Regions from separate parts of the Homo sapiens genome. Here all the other regions are linked to region 3. Evidence: promoter capture Hi-C in 16 types of primary human blood cells and fetal thymus (Javierre and others, 2016). All regions are on one chromosome and are shown on one strand. Each heading gives the region's core, a stretch centred on a gene start or on the middle of the fragment in contact. The rest is flanking DNA. Distances are from core to core; before and after follow the strand shown.

Region 1 (3,495 bases), core at 921-3,420, 150 kb after region 3:
GAGCCAGGAAGGAGAGGGAGCGGGGAGGTACCCCCACAGCCCTGCAGGCCATGCCCGGGCCCTGGACACTGAGCCTGCTTAGGAAGAGTCAGTGGAGGTCAAGGTGAACCCAGCGGCCCTGCTTGGCTGTGGGCAAAGAAGGGCACCTTTGAGCCTAGCATTGTGGTTGTGGCCTGCATCATAGCTGCCCAGGCACCAAAGGACGCTCCCAATTCTTCCAGCAAGAATTTGAGAAACGTGAGAAGTCAATTAAAGAAAACTGATGTGACATCCAGGGTGATGTCAGAAATGGGAAGATGTCACATCTGGATCCAAATGGAAATGGTAGCTACTGGGAAACAGCTCTCCCAGCCTCAGGAAGAGCCGCAGCTGCTTCCTGGAGGGCCCAGGGCCACGTCCTGGAGGATGGAGCACTCCAGGGGTGGGCAGGGATGGACCCCACTGGCCTCCACCCCTCACAGGAGGAGCCAGGAGTGGGGTTGAAGGACAAGCCACAAACACAATTCCGGGCAGGTCTCAGGGGTGTCTGAGAAAGACATACGCAGAGTCCCGAGTCCTGCCAGGGACTTGGAACGGGGCTCTGCCATTTTCCTTGTGGAGCTCAGAACCATGCCACGTGTCACTGTGGCTCACACTATTGCAGCCAACACATACACACCGCGTACCCTCCAAGTCACTGTGGAGCCAAGGAGCCGCGACATCCGAGGGCAGAAGGACGAAGGACAGAAGCGTGTCTTTGATGCTCAAATCCCACTGCCTGAGGAAATGCCTCTGTGTTTTAAATTATTTCTAAGAACCAACAACTTCATTTTGCTGATTTAGGTGGGGTCATGAGGGGACTATGACGTGTCACCAGCCGAGGCTCACCTTGGCATGGTTTGGCTGGAAAGACCCCAGAAACGGTGGACCTAGGAATTGGGGGGGGGCCTGCCAGGGGTCGCCCCAAAGGGGAAGGATCAGGAAGGCCGGGGGTGTCCTGGCTGGTCTGACCTTCTAGGGGATGGCAGGGAAAAACCTTCTGGGATGAACCATGAGCAGAAAAGAAGCCCCATGAGTGGGCAATGGTGAGAGTGAAGCAGAGGGGCCAGGTGGCCCCTGGCTCAGGGTCAGGCCTGACTCAGCTCACAACAGGGTCATATTCAGGTTTTTTATTAAATTACTGCTAACAGAGAGGGGATGCCACAGGAGAAACAAGCTTGGAAGCAGGGCTGTCCCCGAAATTAGTTTTTCCTCACATGTACTTTGAAGAAAGGATTTTCTTAAAATGTACAGTCCAGCTAGTTCCTCTCAGCAAAAGGTAAATTGCTAAGGCTTTTACTTAGGTTCTCTATTTGGGAAAAAAATTAAATAATGTCATGTGTCTATTTTGCAGTAAACTCTGGCTTTCAGCGATGTTTTTGCTTATAAGACTTTTTGTATCTATTCATCTCTCGTTAAGAGTCACAGAGGTCATTGTTTACTATAAAAATCCAGTGGCCAGGCACGGTGGCTCACATCTGTAATCCCAGCACTTTGGGAGGCCAAGGCAGGCAGATCATGAGGTCAGGAAATCAAGACCATCCTGCCTAACACGGTGAAACCCTGTTATCTACTAAAAACACAAAAAAATTAGCCAGGCGTGGTGGCGGGTACCTGTAGTCCCAGCTACTTGGGAGGCTGAGGCAGGAGAATGGCATCAACCCAGGAAGTGGAGCTTGCAGTGAGCCCAGATAGCGCCACTGCACTCCAGCCTGGGCGACACAGCGAGACTCTGTCTCAAAAAAAAAAAAAAAAAAAAAAAAAAAAATCCAGAAAGTGCCAAAAAGGGAACCTGGATCTCAGAACTACAGCAATCCTGTGGAAATCTTAACCAAAAGGGAGAAGACAGGAACTGAAATAACTTGTGTGAATAACACCCTTAATTCACAATTGAAATCAGGATTTGTTTCCTCTCATCAGTTTCACTAAACCACTTACCTTCCTTTTAAAGGAAGTTGTTAAATAACAATAGTAAATTTTAGGAGAAGACATACACTATTTTGTTACAAACTAACAGACCACAGGATGAAGGCCTTTACCTGGATGATCCACTTGCACTTAATGAATAAATATATTTTCTCTTTCTTATGATTTTCAAATATTATTTTCTCTAGCTTACTTTATTGTAAGACTACAGTATACAGTACATATAACATGCAAAATATGTGTTCATCCACTGACACATTATCGGTAAGGCTTCTGGTCAATAGCAGGCTATTAGTAGTTAAGTTTTGGGGGAGTCAAAGGTTACATGCAGGTTTTGAAAGGCCCCAGAAACAGTGGGGCCATTTCTGCATGGGGGAAGGGGGGTGTGTTGGTGCCCCCGAGTTGTCAACTTTAGTTATGATGAGGTCATTAGGGTGAGAGCCTAATCCAATATGACTTGTGTCCTAATGGAAAGGGAGACTCTGGACACAGACATGCACACAGGGAGAATGCAATGTGGAGACTGGAGTTAAGCTACCAAGAACTGGGAGAAGGGCTGGGCCCCGACCTTCCCTGGCACCTGCAAAAGGAGCATGGCCCTGCTGACCCTGTGGCCTCCAGCCTCCAGGACAGCGAGGCAAACCATTTCTGTTGTCAAAGCCACTCAACTGTGGCACAGCAGCCCTAGCAAGCGTATACAGCCCCTTTGCGTGACGGGTTTGGAGGCTCTGACTCTAGCACACTCCAGACTTGCACATCGAGTCAGTACAGCACAACAGCTTAAAACAGGCTCTGCAGTCAGAAAGGCCTACAGTCCATTACCTGCTCCCAATAACCTCATGAACAACATGACCAGGCTGAGCTCTGATTTTCTCATGGGTCAAACGGCTATTGACTGTATGCAGCACCCAAGCCTTCGAGGTTTTTAGAGGACAAAATAAATGAACACATGTGGCACTCCTAACACTGCAGACTGTTGACAGCCTGGTCTTCTGGGGCAAAAAAAAAAAAAAAAGTGGAAAAAAAAAAGACTGTAAGGGACAAGGAGCAAGTGGGTGGTAAGGAATGAAAGCGATGGGTGTAGGTTACTCTTTCAAAACATTTTCTCACAAAAGGCAAATTAGAGATCAATAAGATCTTGGAAGAATTCACAAGGTCAGGAAAAAAGTACCTTTTTAGGATAAGGGCGACTTAAGCTTGTGTGTAGATTTCTTGTCCCCATTCTCAGAGTAGGTAGAATCCTGGGCACTGTCCCCAAGCAGTGTCCCAGGTATGGGGGGCAAGGCACAAGGGTGAGGGGGCTGCCCATGGGCCCCAGAGCTGGGACAAACCAGGAGGGAAACTGAGCAGCAAGTGGGAGAGGATCGTCAGCCCAGTGGGTGAGGGAGGGGAGGAACGGGCTGGCAGTGGGCATGCAATGCTGTGGAAGCCAGGGTGCTCAGATGAAATCAGAGTTCCACTTACAGAGCGGGAGCTGAGCTGAGGAGAAGTTCCTTGGGAGAAAGAGCATGAAACAGTGCAGCACGCGTGGGGAGACAGGAAGAGCTCTAA
Region 2 (3,535 bases), core at 901-3,400, 130 kb after region 3:
TACTTCGCTGTGCTTAGCATGAGATGGGGGACACTGAGCACTCACAGCCACTCAATGCCACACCAGGTCCCCACTGCAGGCTGGGCAAGGATCCACAACCTTCGTGAGCCCCCTTGAAGCTGAGGACTGGAATGGCTGCTGTGTGCCCGGGTTCTCCTCAGGGTCTTCTTCCAGGTCAGTCCGAGCTGAAACCAAGAGGATAGCAGAATATTCTGGGTGGGGGAAGGTACCAGAGAGACCTCTCTGCACAGCCAGCATTCCCATAGTCATTAATAGAAAAGGAGAGTTCATCTCTGATGCCACGAGGGTCTGGCCATCAAGAACAGAGGGAAATGCAATGAGCCCCTCTGGCCCTATCAGAAACAAATAGAAAGGAGCCTCTCCATGCCTGCCTCTTGACTTGATTGCTTTTTTTCTTCTATACTTGACTGCTTTCGTTTCATTTTTATTAGATTTTTGAAATTCTATGTTTTGAGCAGTTCTGTCCAATTTGGTGGCTTCACACAGAGTGGGAGTTTAGCTAAGTGGTCTTGCTTTCAAATGATACTCAAACCTTGCAGGTCTGGGGACTTTCACCTGCTACCTAACATCAAAGGACTTAGTGCAGGCCTCTGAGAGACAGATCTTTTTAAAAAATTAAATTAATGCTTTATGTATCTAGAAAAAAATCTGAATTTTTATTGTCTCCATGAAAAGTATTGTATTACACAAACCTTTCCAATCTACCCAAAATGAGTGAGACAAATGAGTCATTCTCCCTGGCCAGGACTTTATCAAACGCCCCAGTATTCCCAGTGTTGGTGACCAATTAATAGAAAACAAATATTAAGTCTCAGACCTACTTACTCAACTAAACTGAACTGTAAGAATAAAAACTGGACCTTGGACTCTGGCAAGCCACTAGGGTAAGGCCACCCCAATGTAGTGAGCACATTTAGGTTTACTCATATTTAAAAGTTCAGTCACATTTTAGGGCAAACTTAACTCTCAAATATAAAGTTATTTTGAAGTTATTCTGCTCGTGCCCTGGATTTTCCCATGTTTCTGAAACTCTAATGCCTTATTTTCAACCAAAATCTTCTATACTCTCCATTACTGCAGAAACGACAGGGAAGGAACCTTTCCTTGCAGTCAGTTACCCTGTGAACAAGTATAAAGGAAACCCAACATATTTGTAACGACTCCTTATGAAATCTCTGGCAGAGACAGAGCTGAACTGATTCCAACAACATTCCATTTATTCCTAATGCCATATGAGTGGTTGTTAAGAATAATACCATGTGGACTGTTTAAGAAGAAATATTCCCATGACACTTGTTACATCACAGTGAGAAAGAATGTATTCAGGACCATTGCAATGGGTATAGGGACCACTGCTATGTGGTATTGCCATAGGGGAGAGAGAGCAGGCTCAGTGTTGAATACAGCATGGGCAAGTGGGAATTTATAGCCAAGGAGCAGGGTGGGAGTCAGTGGACAGAAAATCACTAAGAGGGAACGTCAGGGTGAGGTGGGGTTGTAGCTGAACCAGCCTACCAGAATTCTTGCTGAAGAGAAGCCGGGTGATCAGACGTCACCTGGGGGATGGTGGAGGATAATCAGACACCAAGCATGGGTGTTCTTACTAAACTGACTTACCAGGGTTCTTGCAAAAACTGAATTTTTGCAAGATGGGCATAGCAGAAGATTCAGAAGCTTGACTAAAGTTTGGCCAAGCAAAAGAATCATTGTCAGAACTTAGAACACAGAGGACAACTGTGGGTGAAGAATTATCCAAAAATGAAGGAAAACCTTGACCCAAAGAAGGAACTCACCTAATGTGATAGCTTGTAAATATGGTACACAGAATATCTTGGAAATCCAGAGGGTGTCCAGAGTAGATATCCACTGCTCTGAAATTAACTGCAGAATGCTGGATGTAGATATAAGAAAGATAATTTTCTAGTGTTGACTGAGGATTGTTTAAGGGAGAGAGAAGGTCCAAGATTATAAATTCCCCAAGGGCAGGTCATATGAGGTCTTAGCTATTTTTGCATCTACAGTGCCTGACATAAGCTCAATGTATGTTCATTGTTTGACCTATTCTGTGGTAGAAATCTCAGTTATTAAAAATGTTCATTTCACCAGATTTTTCATGGCTCAAAGGCCATTTAATTTCTTTAAGTTACTTAAATCTTGGCAGTAATTCCTGCCAAGCATATGTCTAGTCATAGATGTGTTTTCCCCATTGTCTTGGTATCTGGAAAGATCTGGGAAAGTGGACACAAGTTACCGAAAAGGACTCTCTCTCATTGTGAACTAATACATTGGAAGTCTGGCTTAGGAGATGTGCTAGCATGAATTGGTGTGCTAGAGTCAGATCAAATCCAAAGAAACCAATGGAAGGGAGTCTCCCAACCAGTTATGCTATGGACCAGACCTTGGTCTGTGCTAAATGCCCTAAGAAACTGCCACAGACTGAGGTCCTGCCTAACCTACAGGCCAGTCCCAATGCTGGCATCCATGCCATCCATGAAAGGGCCTCCCCTCCGCAGCAGTTCTAAGCATGGTATCAATCAATCAATGAATAAATCAGCCACAACTAAATAAATTAAAATAAGCTTTAAAACCATTTGCTACTTTGAATGGGAGAAGATATTGAGAAATGGAAGAAAATGCGGTAAACTGGGTGAAAACATAGGCTTTGGAGACTAGAAGAGCTAGAATTGAACGGTTATTCAATTATTATTCTAAGATTGGTTGTTACTTTGTGGACTTAAGCAAATTATTTAACCTTTTAAAATCTCAGGGTTCTCTGTAAAATTAGAAAAATAGTATCCATTTCATTGGGCTGTGAGGATTAAATGAGATTACCTACATAAAGGTCTTTTCCACTGCTGGCAATATGGTAGACTGGAGATTCTAAAAATCCTCCCACTACAGAACACCTAAGAATATTAGAGTCAATATATTTTTTTAAAGGAACAAAACCCTTAAACATGTATGGTTGTAGTAGCAAGATAAAAGAATTCCCCTGAAATCAGGAATGAAGTCATAAGATAAATCCAGGGAAATAAGAGATTGTTGAATACTCAGACAGCCTGGGGCATCTTCCAGTTCTAGGGCGCTGGGGACATCTAAAGCTCTAGGCTCTGGGGCTGGGGCTTTAATATTAATGGAAACATGGGTGGGCAGGAGATTAGGGAAAAGAAGAACCAGAGAGCACCACAGGAAGACAAGACACATCAAGGCTGTGCCCTCAGAGAAATGTCAAATAAGGAGAGCATAAGCACCCTACTGAAACCATTGACAGGAAAGTGACCTATCTTGGTCTTGGCTCTTAAGGAAAGTCTCCTATGGGTAGGGTTTTCAGTTTTACCAAATAAAATATGAAGTACAGGAGTTTATAGAGCAGTGAAACTCTTCCATCTGATACTATAATGGTGAACACATGCCATTACACCTATGTCTAACACCAGTGAATGTACAACACCAAGTGTGAACCCTAATGTCAACTAGGGACTCTGGGTGACAATGATGTGTCAGTGTTGGTTCA
Region 3 (3,552 bases), core at 576-3,075:
CAGAAGGGAGGGTCCTGAAATCCAGAGTCCTCCTGCAGAGATGCAGCTGCCACTCCTCGCCTCTGACACTTGCAGACATTCGGAGAGAAAGCCGTCTGCAAGGTGACAGAGGGCGGACTGGAAGAACACAAGGAACCCAGGGATGCTGATGGAGCATGGAAAACCGCAGCAGAAGGCACTGAGGCAAGGTGTGCCCTCCAGGCGGGGCAGGCTGTGGCTGGGCAGAGCGCCTGCCAGGGAGAAGTAGGGCAAAGGGAAGAAAGCACCTGTGGGAGAAACATGGGGAAACAAGGAAGAAACCTGCATATGCACGGGAGCACAAATAAGGAAGGAGATGGGAGAACTGGGTGGAGGCAGATGGCAAACGTGGGGGCCAAGGGAGGTAGATGAGAATTAGGATATGGGATAATAAGACAAAGCCACATGAAACTCTAAAGTGCGGGAGGAGGGCAGAGAACAGGGAGGGTGCATGACAGGCACCCCGAGAATAATGCAGTGAGGAAGTTTGCAAGACGGGGGAGGGGGACATTAGGAAAAAAGGAGAATTTGTTGGGAAAGGTGGAAAAAGAAAAGGAGTGAGATTTCTCCGCCTGTTAGCAAGGGGAATAAAGGAGAGCAAATCGCTGGGTGACCAGGAAAGGTTCACAGAGAAGAAAACACGAGGCAGCAAAAACCGAAGGTGGGGACAGAGAAAATGCTGGCAGGGGGAGGTGCATAATATAAGGCTATGGGAAGCCATGGGAACAAGAGCTGAATAAATTCACAGTATTATTCTATTTATCCACATCCCTATGCAATGCTGGGAAGCAAATGACCCACAGGGTTTTGTTTGCTTGCTTTGGTTTGGTTTTCCTGCACTTGGAGGGAGGGGAAATTTGCTCAAGCTCTGTAACCTTGCAGTCAGATGGGTGGCCCAGCCCAAGTCACCCGAGCTCCCCCTGACGCTGGCAGCAGCGCGGGCTTCTACCTGCCTGGGGCTGGAGTACCAATTCCCCCACCTCCTGCACAGAATGGGACCAAACCAACTCCGCCAATGCATTCCCTGCAGTCCACAGACGATGGGCACCGGGTCCCAAAATCTTTCCCCTGGGACGAGACTCCGCTGGTACCAAGAGAAACTTGCTTTCTAAACTAAGCTCTCCAACCGCATCGCTCCGGGTCCCCGGAGGCACCAGCCACGCCACCCGATGGAGCAGAGCGTTACAGGGCTCCGCCGCGCCAGGCTCCCCAGACTCTGCCACCCCCACGGCCGCCCCTGTAGGCCAGGCCCCGCGAGCTGGGAGCGCGGGTGAAGTTACAAGGCGACCTCCCTGCAGGCTTCCGGCTGGAAACGGCCTTTTGCGAGAACACCACGTGCATGTCCTCCCAAAAGCGATGGTGCCGGGTGGCCCAGAGGGCGCAGAGCCACCGCCGGGCAGGGAGCGGGCGCACGGACCTAACAGGTGAGCACCCGGTAGCCTCCACCGGCGGGGGAAGCAGAGGCCAAGCAGCTGGGAGCTGGACATCCCGAAGCCCCGAGGCAGTCCACTGGGACTCAAATCCTCCCGATATTCTACCTAACAGCCCATGCCCGCGCCCGCCCGGCAGAGCCGCGCGCCCGAAGCCGTCTTACCTCCTGCGGCGCCTCTTGGCGGAGCCTACAAAGTCAGCGTGTCCAACACGTCCCTGCCCTCAGAGCCACCTCCGGTGCCGGCGGAGCCCCGAGGTCGCCGCACTCTCGGAGGAGCCTGGGATCCAGTGCGCGCCCTCGGAGCTAGCGACCGGCAGGGCGATCGCGGGAGAAAGCGCAACGCACACTCTCCTCCCGCGCCGCGGCAGCACACTCAGCCAAGCCACGCCCCAGCCCCGCTCCCCACCAGGCCACGCCCCCAGCCCGGCTCTTCCCCCCGCCCCATATCAGGCCACGCCCCCGGTTAGCTCACTCCCTCAGGCCACACCCTCGGCCACGCCCCCACACTACCAACCACAGCCGGGGACCCCACCCATCAAAAACAGTTCCCCGGCCAGGCGCAGTGGCTCTTGCCTGTAATCCTAGCACTTTTGGAGGCCGAGGTGGGCGGATCACCTGAGGTCAGGAATTTGAGAGCAGCTTGGCCAACATGGTGAAACCCCGTCTCTAATAAAAATAAAAATTAACCGGGCGTGGTGACAGGCGCCTGTGATCCCAGCTACTCAGGAGGCTAAGGCAGGAGAATCACTTGAACCCGAGAGGCGGAGGTTGCAGTGTGCCGAGATCGCGCCACTGCACTCCAACCTGGAGGACACAGCCAGACTCCGTTTTTTAAAAAAAGAAACAAACAAAAATAGTTCCCTCAGCCACCAGCCAGCCCCCACCCCCCAGGGCGGGAAGAGGAGTCTCATCTCCGGGGCAACCGTGCCCCACTGCCCACTGCCTGGGCCAGAAGTTCACTCCCTGTGAAAGGAAAACGCAGGGTAGGGATTTTTAAACCTACATGTTTCCCAGGGCCTGGGGCAAGTCTTGAGTAGACTGTTGCAGTAAACCGACTCAAAGGCCTATCACCTTTCTTGTGAGGCTCAAGGCCTAATCATTAATTGACATGAAAACCACAGAAGAGAAGCAAACCCTTCTGTGCTGGGATCTGTGCCCCAGTGCTCCATGTTCCCTGATAGGCAGCTAATGGAATTCATAAAATAAATGCATGCTTTCTACCAGTGTAGTTTTTTAGATGATTCATTTAGTGGCCAGCACTATTATTTATAAATGTCTATTGTCTTTTATAATCAAAGAACAATACCCACAATCTGTAAAATAAAAAACAAAAATTATATTACCCAATGAAAAGTGAAAATTAATTTTATGTATGTTTTTTAAAATATTGAAAAAACTCTGTATGACATTATAATGGTGGCTTCATGTCATTATGCATTTCTCAAAACTCACAGAATGAACAGCATGCGGCGTGAGCCTCCTGTAAGTAATGGACTTAGTTCATCTTAATGTAACAACATGGGCCCATCAATCATAACACATGTGCCACTCGAATGTAAGATGTCAGTACAAGCAGCTGTGTGTGGAGGGAGGGGCGTGAGGGAGTACATCAGAACTCCGTGTACTTTCCATTCCTGTTTTCTAAACCTAAAACTGCTCTAAAAATAGTCTATTAATTAAAGCACACTCCAAGATTAATGATAATTATCTGTGGGTGGTGGAAATATGGGCAAATTTTATTTAATTCTTTGAATTGTTATTGAAATTACCCCAAGTTTTAACAATGACCATGTATTTTTAAAGCTGAAAAAATATAAAAACCAAACCTTGGAAAATTTTAGAAACATAGTATGTGAGGCTAATATCATTGACTGTTCCATTTTATTTCTACTCTATAAAAAATCTGCACAAAGCACTCACAAATGCTAAAATGAAATCTATGTTAGTATTATTTAAAAAAAAATATCACGGTCTAAATTGAGGGTTTTTTTATTATCTCTTTAGAATTAGCACAAATCTGAGGAGCAGATTTTGATTTTTCTTTTAAAAAAATTGTGTTTCAAAAGGTTATTTCTGCCTACTTGGAAACCACTATTAACATT

What was found. Contacts are between HindIII fragments. The CHiCAGO score rates a contact against its expected background, and 5 or more counts as called.
Region 1: a fragment that was not itself captured here is called in contact with the fragment with the promoter of SPATA13 in region 3 in 1 of 17 cell types (M2 macrophages); the score reaches 5.3 in M2 macrophages.
Region 2: a fragment that was not itself captured here is called in contact with the fragment with the promoter of SPATA13 in region 3 in 4 of 17 cell types (M2 macrophages, M1 macrophages, fetal thymus and 1 more); the score reaches 8.5 in M2 macrophages.

Annotation. Positions count from the first base shown.
Region 1 is chr13:24,013,171-24,016,665 of GRCh38, reverse strand. It overlaps a transcript of SPATA13 not described here. Among named protein-coding and RNA genes, the nearest start is that of C1QTNF9B, 120 kb to the right of the region's middle. RefSeq lists an enhancer at 1-302. The HindIII fragment of the contact is 1,945 bases long and covers 1,198-3,142 here.
Region 2 is chr13:24,030,163-24,033,697 of GRCh38, reverse strand. It overlaps a transcript of SPATA13 not described here. Among named protein-coding and RNA genes, the nearest start is that of SPATA13, 130 kb to the left of the region's middle. The HindIII fragment of the contact is 905 bases long and covers 1,698-2,602 here.
Region 3 is chr13:24,158,993-24,162,544 of GRCh38, reverse strand. SPATA13 (spermatogenesis associated 13) reads right to left here and starts at 1,825. Exons shown (of 13, transcript NM_001166271.3): 1 at 1,613-1,825. It overlaps MIR2276 (microRNA 2276), which reads right to left and starts at 129; the gene lies at 41-129. RefSeq lists a silencer at 1,875-1,934. The HindIII fragment of the contact is 10,500 bases long and covers 1-3,552 here.